Linked DNA regions of Homo sapiens: region 1 is linked to region 2. The links are contacts of gene promoters, found by promoter capture Hi-C in blood cells and fetal thymus (Javierre and others, 2016). All regions are on one chromosome and are shown on one strand. Each heading gives the region's core, a stretch centred on a gene start or on the middle of the fragment in contact. The rest is flanking DNA. Distances are from core to core; before and after follow the strand shown. Region 1 overlaps NUP88 (nucleoporin 88). Region 2 holds the start of SPAG7 (sperm associated antigen 7).

The links. The method cuts DNA at HindIII sites, captures the fragments that hold promoters and counts their contacts. A CHiCAGO score of 5 or more calls a contact.
Region 1: a contact is called between a fragment that was not itself captured here and the fragment with the promoter of SPAG7 in region 2, in 1 of 17 cell types (naive B cells). The highest score is 6.2, in naive B cells.

The regions. Positions count from the first base shown.
Region 1 is chr17:5,406,537-5,409,866 of GRCh38, forward strand. It overlaps NUP88 (nucleoporin 88), which reads right to left. Exons shown (of 17, transcript NM_002532.6): 5 at 2,197-2,373. Among named protein-coding and RNA genes, the nearest start is that of NUP88, 11 kb to the right of the region's middle. The HindIII fragment of the contact is 236 bases long and covers 1,362-1,597 here.
Region 2 is chr17:4,966,302-4,969,883 of GRCh38, forward strand. It overlaps SPAG7 (sperm associated antigen 7), which reads right to left and starts at 1,516. Exons shown (of 7, transcript NM_004890.3): 1 at 1,419-1,516. The coding sequence starts at 1,503. CAMTA2 (calmodulin binding transcription activator 2) reads right to left here. Exons shown (of 23, transcript NM_015099.4): 19 at 3,329-3,400; 20 at 3,199-3,219; 21 at 2,849-3,036; 22 at 2,606-2,680; 23 at 1,696-2,518. The coding sequence ends at 2,455. LOC124900387 (a long non-coding RNA gene) reads right to left here and starts at 1,412. Exons shown (of 2, transcript XR_007065587.1): 1 at 100-1,412; 2 at 1-18. MIR6864 (microRNA 6864) reads right to left here and starts at 3,470; the gene lies at 3,401-3,470. RefSeq lists enhancers at 561-1,238, 1,152-1,651, 1,239-1,915, 1,916-2,593, 2,561-3,582 and 1 more and a silencer at 1,662-1,741. The HindIII fragment of the contact is 6,795 bases long and covers 138-3,582 here.

The sequences.
Region 1 (3,330 bases), core at 230-2,729, 440 kb after region 2:
GGGAGGAAGACATGGAAGGGTCCAAAATGGGATTTGGGGAAACTATTTAAGAAAATAAGCCAGGCAGATGGTGAAGTAGGCAGATGATGCAGTTCTGAAGCAGGGACAGAGGAATGCAGAGAAGGGTGTATAATCAGGGGTGTCCAATCTTTTGGCTTCCCTGGGCCACACTGGAACAATTGTTTTGGGCCACACAGAAAATACACTAACAATACGTGATGAGCTTTAAAAAAAAAAGAAAAGAAAAGAAAATCGCAAACAAATATCATAATGTTCTAAGAAAGTTTACAAATTTGCGTTGGGCTGCATTCAAGGCTGTCCTGGGCTGCGCGCAGCCCGTGGGTTGGACAAGCTTGGTGTATACTTTCGAAAAATTTAAATCACAAAATCAATAGAAATTTGGGACTGATGAAATGTAAGGATGAAGAAAACTTTTGGGTTTTGGGCTAACGTTACTAGGCAGATCATGGTTTGGACAAATGAGGGCTCAGCAGCAAGAGGAGAAAGGGTAAGGGAAGGTACTAAAGTTACCACAAAATCCTCCTGAGATCATGTGTGAAAGGCAGAGAACATTTCTGCCAAGGAGAATGCACTCAACAGTGAATCCTCACCATTCTGTAACCTACCGAGCTCTTTCATCTTTCTAATCTTTATGGTTTTGCGTACTCTCTTCTCTCTCCTGTACCCACTTCTGATTCTGTCTAGTGAATCCTTCAAGTTCAAGCTTTTGTAATAGCATTTCCTTAAAGTCTTCCAAGATGAGCAGGCCTACTCATTTACTCCATCACACTCCTGAAGAACCCGGTGATGCCCTGAGCACATGACACTGTACTATAGTTACTGGTTTAGTTGTATGCCCTTCTGGTAGTTAAGGAACCACATGGCAGGAACCTTGCCTTCAATCTTGTATTTCCATCTTCTGCCAGAGTGGGTCCTGAATAAGTATCTGTTAAGTCGATTTACAAGCGAATAAACTCTAATGCTCAGCCCTTAGCCTTATGCCTCTGCAGTTTTCCCTCAAATTCTTATCCTGTATAGACTCTCTCACCATGAAAGATGATTCTCATACCTCTATTTTAATTCTTCTTGTCTGTCATCATCCTGTATTTCCAACTGTCCATGGAATATTTCCATTTTATTGGTCCAATACTATCTTACACTGATTTACTTAGAAATAAATCTTCTCCCCCAATTAGCAGCCTTTACTGACCTGTTTCTGTTCATGGCATACTCCCTTATCCAAACAGTAACTAAGTCTTATTTATCCTTCCTTTGTTGTTATCTACTGTGTTTCATTTTTCCCTCTGTTCTATTACCACCCAAGTTCAAACTCTCATAAATGACAAGCTCAATTTTGCAAAAGCTTCTTTAAAAGTCTCTGTCCCAGTCCCCTCCCTAACCAATTGTTTTGTCCTTCTGTTCAGAAACCATCACTGGCTTCCTACTACCCTATTCCTACAGAAAAAAAACCCACACTCACTCTTTTAACGAGGTATTTTTAATTCCAGCAAATTTTCTCGGGACAGATACTCCAGCTTTATCACTTAATGCTCCCTACATGAATCCTCAGCTCTAGCCCAGAATGTCTAATAAATTAAGCTTGAATGACACTTGCACTTGCTTATTTTCAGACGCTACTTTATGCTGCCCTTGACAGAAATGGTCTCACTCTTCCTTGATACTTCATTTAATCCTGAATGAGACCTTTAAGTCACACATGACACCACTCCTTCTCTACGAAAATTTCCTTAACCTCCCAGTCAGAATGATCTCTCCTTCCTCGGGGTTCTTACTGTCTGTGTACCAATACTGTGGTATGGATAGTATTTTTTCATGTGTATGTATCTTTCTCCCCACAACTGGGACATAAGATACCAGATTACCACGCCTACGTGGTGTCTTGTTCATATAAGATAAACAATAAGCACTTGTTCGGATAACTAGAATTTGTGAACACAAATCCAGGCCTATCATAAGTGATTATCCAAGAATTCTATAGAACTTACCCAAATAATATGAAGAAATGAAAGGCCAAATGACCTGTACTAACTCTTTCTCAAAAATATGCAAGCCAAGCATGTGAAGGCTGCAACATTTCCACAGACTCAAAAACATGGCTCCCAAGTCCAGCCTCAATGATATCTACTGGAGCCCAAACTGAGTTTTCATTTCAGGTGGGTGACCACCTCAACTTACCTGTGTAACAGACTGATGTATGTCAGGAAAGTCTCTCCATTTTCATATAAGATGTACAGTGGGTATGCCACTACTTCATCTTTGCCGTTTTGTCCAAATAGAGTCTTTGGGACTGCTGCCAATGGCCCAAAGTCAAATGCAACTGCTGTCTCTCCTAGAGATGCGGTATACGCCCTTCTGGAAAGAGATGTAAAAACCAACTTGTTAAAAACAAAAACAACAAAAAGTAAAAAGAAAAACAAAACAAAACAAAAACACAAAATGTCTAATAACAGGAGGTGGGTATGTATGGAATTTGTAGGCAATGGACTGAAAAGACAAAAAATGATTATGAAGAATGTTAACATTTAAAAATTCTCAGCTGGGTGCAGTGGCTCATGCCTGTAATCCCAGCAATTTGGGAGGCCGAGGTGGGTGGATCACCTGAGGTCAGGAGTTCGAGACCAGCCTGGCCAACATGGTGAAACCCCGTTTCTACTAAAAATACAAAAATTAGTTGGGCGTGGTGGCAGGTGCCTGTAGTCCCAGCTACTTGGGAGGCTAAGGCAGGAGAATTGCTTGAACCTGGGAGGCGGAGGTTGCAGTGAGCCGAGATTGTGCCATTGCACTCCAGCCTGGGCGACAAGAGCGAAACTCCGTCTCAAAAAAAAAAAAAAAAAAAAAATTCTCATGAAATTAAGTGAAAAAAGCTGGCCATAAAATTATTTGGTTCTACTCTCATCTTAAATAGTTTAAATACACAGATATACAAATAGCAAAAATTTATTATATACACACACATAAATGCAAAAAGGAAACAGGAAAACACATGAAAACATCAACAGTTGTCTCTGAGCAGCAGGATCCGTAAGTTCTACAAATACTCGCAAAGCACCTACTCTGTGCCAGGTACTTTTCTAGGGTCTGGGAATATGTCAGTGAATTAAACAAATGTCCTGCCCTCTAGAGAGAGAAATACCACAAAAAGAGAAGAAATAAAGATGGAACATAAACTCAGAAAATATCATGAAAAATAAAGTAGGGTAAGAGGGTATTGATGGAGGTGCTACTTTAGACTACTTGGTATAGGAAAGACTCTGATAAGATATTTGAGCAAAGATCTGAAGGAAGTAAGAGAGCAAGTCTGTGGTTAAC
Region 2 (3,582 bases), core at 266-2,765:
TTCGAGTCTTCTCTGCATCTAGAGAAGTGGCACAAGATTATGGTCAAGAACATAGGCTTCGAGCCCAGTCATACCTGGGTTTGAAACCCTGCCACTTACCAAACTAACCATGTGACCTCAGGCGAGTGACTCATTTAAGCTTCCCAGTCTGTCAATGCCGGGTGATCCCCCACTTAGACAGTCATCGGAGCATTAGAGAATTCCAGTTCCCCATTCCCATCATGCTTCCTCCTTTCTCAGAGATTTCAAATAGACTCTTCTGCCTGTAACGCTTTGCTTCTCTCTCTCATTTACGGAATTACCTGTTCTGATCTCGGCTCACTGCAGATTGGGGGAGAACCTCAGGTGGCCGCTCTCACAGTTATTTTTCTCTCAGAGCACTTATCAAGTTGGTTATTAAACTTACGTGTGATCACTGCATCAATGAGCGCCCCAGCCCCGGACTGTGGCCTCCCTGAGGGGTACCCCTGGTCCCTAACGGTTGTTCAAGAAACAAGGGGACGAAGCGTAGGCAACCAGCGGCCCTTGAATACTTGGAAGGCGTCCTGCCTGCTCTGGTCCCCCTGGGGCACGTGGGGAGCTGGGACAGGGCTCGTCCGTGGTCAAGGTCCGCAGGTTTGGGAGTTGGGGTCCTGCGTTCCGCCAGTATCATCCCAAGCTGCAACACGAGCAGCCCCGGGGAGGCTCCCACCGCCCTGCAGGGCCGCGCCCTACGCCGGCCGCCGAACTCCAGCCCACCCGCAGGGAAGCTACTCCGAGAACGCAGGCGGAGACAGTGGCCAATCGGACCCGGCGGGTATTCTCATCCCTCCAATCAACACTACGATCCGCCCGGGCAGCTCGGGAATTTAAGGCTACGGATGGGAAAAAGGTTGTCGGAGGGAGGCAGAAGGGACTGGGTTAAATTAAGCAGGAGGGGCAAGAACACACAGAGGACCCTGCAACCAATGGGAATTCGCAGGCTGGGGTGGTTTCGAAGGAAGGTCGAACAGGCCTGAGGAGGCAGAGCTTTAAGTTGAGATAGCCAATAGAGATGAAGGCACAGTAGATGGCGTGTCCTAAATCCAATCGAAATAGAGCTAGAGGTGAGCGGGGCAGGAATGCGGCAGGTTGGAGGCACCCTACCAATCAGACCAGGTCAGCAGCGGACAGGCGGGACGGCCGGCTAATGGGAAACAAGGACTGCGGAAGGCCAGGGTCGGGAGAAGAGGCAGGAGGCTGGCGCTATCTTTCAGGTAGCCAATCACTGTCCGCTAAGAACAGCGGGCGTGTCAGCAGCCCTTTTAGGGACTCTGAGGGTCTCGGAAGGGGCCTGTGAGGGGTCTTTCAAGGTTGAGGAGGCGGCATCGTCCAAAGAGGGAGAAGTATGGTCCCGAGAACCGGGCGAAGGAAGGCGGTTGTGAATTTGGGATCCTCACCTCGGGCCTTGCGCCGAGTCTCCTGGTCACCGAGGCTGGGTGGCTTCTCCATGGAGCTCAGGATGGAGCCCAGTAGGTCCGCCATCTTGGGAGTGACTGAGAGGGGGCGGTGCGTCTTAAAGGGAAGGGCGGAATGCCTTTAAGGCCGGAAACACGTCGGAGGCGGAAAACCCTGGGCCCGCCTGGCCTGGGCGCAGATCCCAGGCCCGCGGTGCATGGCGGCCTCCAGCTGGCCTAGGCCCCGCCCCGCCCCCGCAGACAGAGGCCGGAGGCTGGCTGGTGCAGCGATGTTTAATGGCAATTCGTATAAACCAAGCCCATGCACAAGTAGAAAGTGCCCGTGGAGCCGGCAGGAGGCCCCCGCCGCGCTAGAGAACCACAAGCCCGGCCGTGCAGCCCTCCCCGCGGCGCCTTAAATAGATTCTTCACTATACTCTGTATGTTACAGTATGTACAAGACCCCTCCCCTCGGGGGACGGGGCGGACTCCGCAACGCGTTCCTATGTACACCACCTCCCCTTCGGCCCTGAGGTCAGTGGCCAGAGTCGGGTGATGGGGTAAGACAGGGCCAGAGAGGGAGGAAACAGACGCAAACATGCGGAGTCGGGTGGGGACACGGTCAGCCCTGAAACACGAGGGGCGTGCGCAGCGAAGGCAGTGGTGGGAACCGAGGCGGATACATTCAGAGACGCGTCGAACAAATAAATAAGGCAAGTCAGGAGGGGGCCGAGTCGGGTGCAGGCAGGAGGAGCTGGGGAGCAGGGGCAGGCAGGGCTCCGGAGGTCACAGCGGAAGATGCAGGTATGTGGGGCGCGGGTTTTCTGGAGCCAGGACCAAAAGAGACGGGGCACGACCAGGAGGGACGAGGAGAGGGGTGTGGGAGCAAGGCGTGGGGAGGAGGGAGGAGGCCTACAGAGGGCTCCAACAAAGGTGAACAGGAAAGCTGCCGACAGGGGCTCCCCCTGCCCCAGAAAGCCCTCTCCCTGTTAAGACTGCACGAGGCGCCCCCAGGGTGGTGAGAAAGGCGGTGGCCAGGTCATGTGGCCAGTCCCGGCTGGGGAAGCCCTTCCAGCTCCTGGTTCTGCTTCAGTTCCCTCATCCTGCAGAGAGAAAGATAGGAGTCAGAGGAGACTGGCGGATCACGACGGGTGGCAACGCAAAAGCCCAGGGGGAGAAGGGATGAGTACCTGTGTCGGCAGCGCCGCAGGAATCTCATGATCTTCCGGGCTGCCTGGTCCTGCTTCTTGGTGAGAAAGGAGCCTCTGGTGAAAGAAACAAAAGATGGACCTCACAGAAGGCATCGCATGCCTTCGGCCCCCCCAGGAACCCTAGGCAGGGAATGGCAGTGAGGCATGATGATCAAGAGGATGAGTAAGGGGGAATGGCGTGGATGCAGTGGGTGGGCACAGAGGGCTGGGGCTGGGCCCTACTTGTTGCGGGCAGGCAGGGTGGCCGAAGTCCGGTGGGGAGGGCCGGGCCTGCGGCGGTAGGAGCGGTAGTGCTGCTGGATGAGCACAGCCGCTCGGCGGCTCTGCTGAAATCGCTTCTGTTCATAGTAGCTTCGGAACTTGCTCTGGATCAGGATGGCCGCCTGGGTCATCTTCTTATAGAGTGCAAACTGCAGGGGTGGGGAGGAGGGACAGGGGCTGAAATAGAGGGACGGAGACCCAAAGCCCTGAGGCTCACCCAAGTTAGGCTGATGCAAGACTCTCTGTAACCCACACACTCAAGGAAAGACTGAATCATCACAGACCTCACACTCAGAGCTCATGCCTAATACCTTAAGTGCAATCCAGGTCAGCTTGTGGAGAGAGAAGGGGAGTTAGGGCTCTGGCAACATTCTGGAATGGTTAGGCGTGGGTGTGGGTTGGTGGGTTGCTGGTTACACTTTTGAGGGAGAAGGGTCTCACCTGCTTGTACTTCCGGTAACAGCGCTGGATTACAGCTGCTGCTACCTCCTGCTGCTCCTTCAGCCGCCGGCCCTGAAGGGAGAGAAGTCTCACCACCTCATGACCCACATAATGGCATATCTGACTTGTCCCTTCAACTTTCCTGGGGTTCCCCTGACCCTTTACCCCATCCAAGGCCTGTCTGCACGACTACTCATCCTCCAAAAGCCCTGGGAGCCCAGTCTCCCCTGACTGGAGATTGTGTAATTCATCCT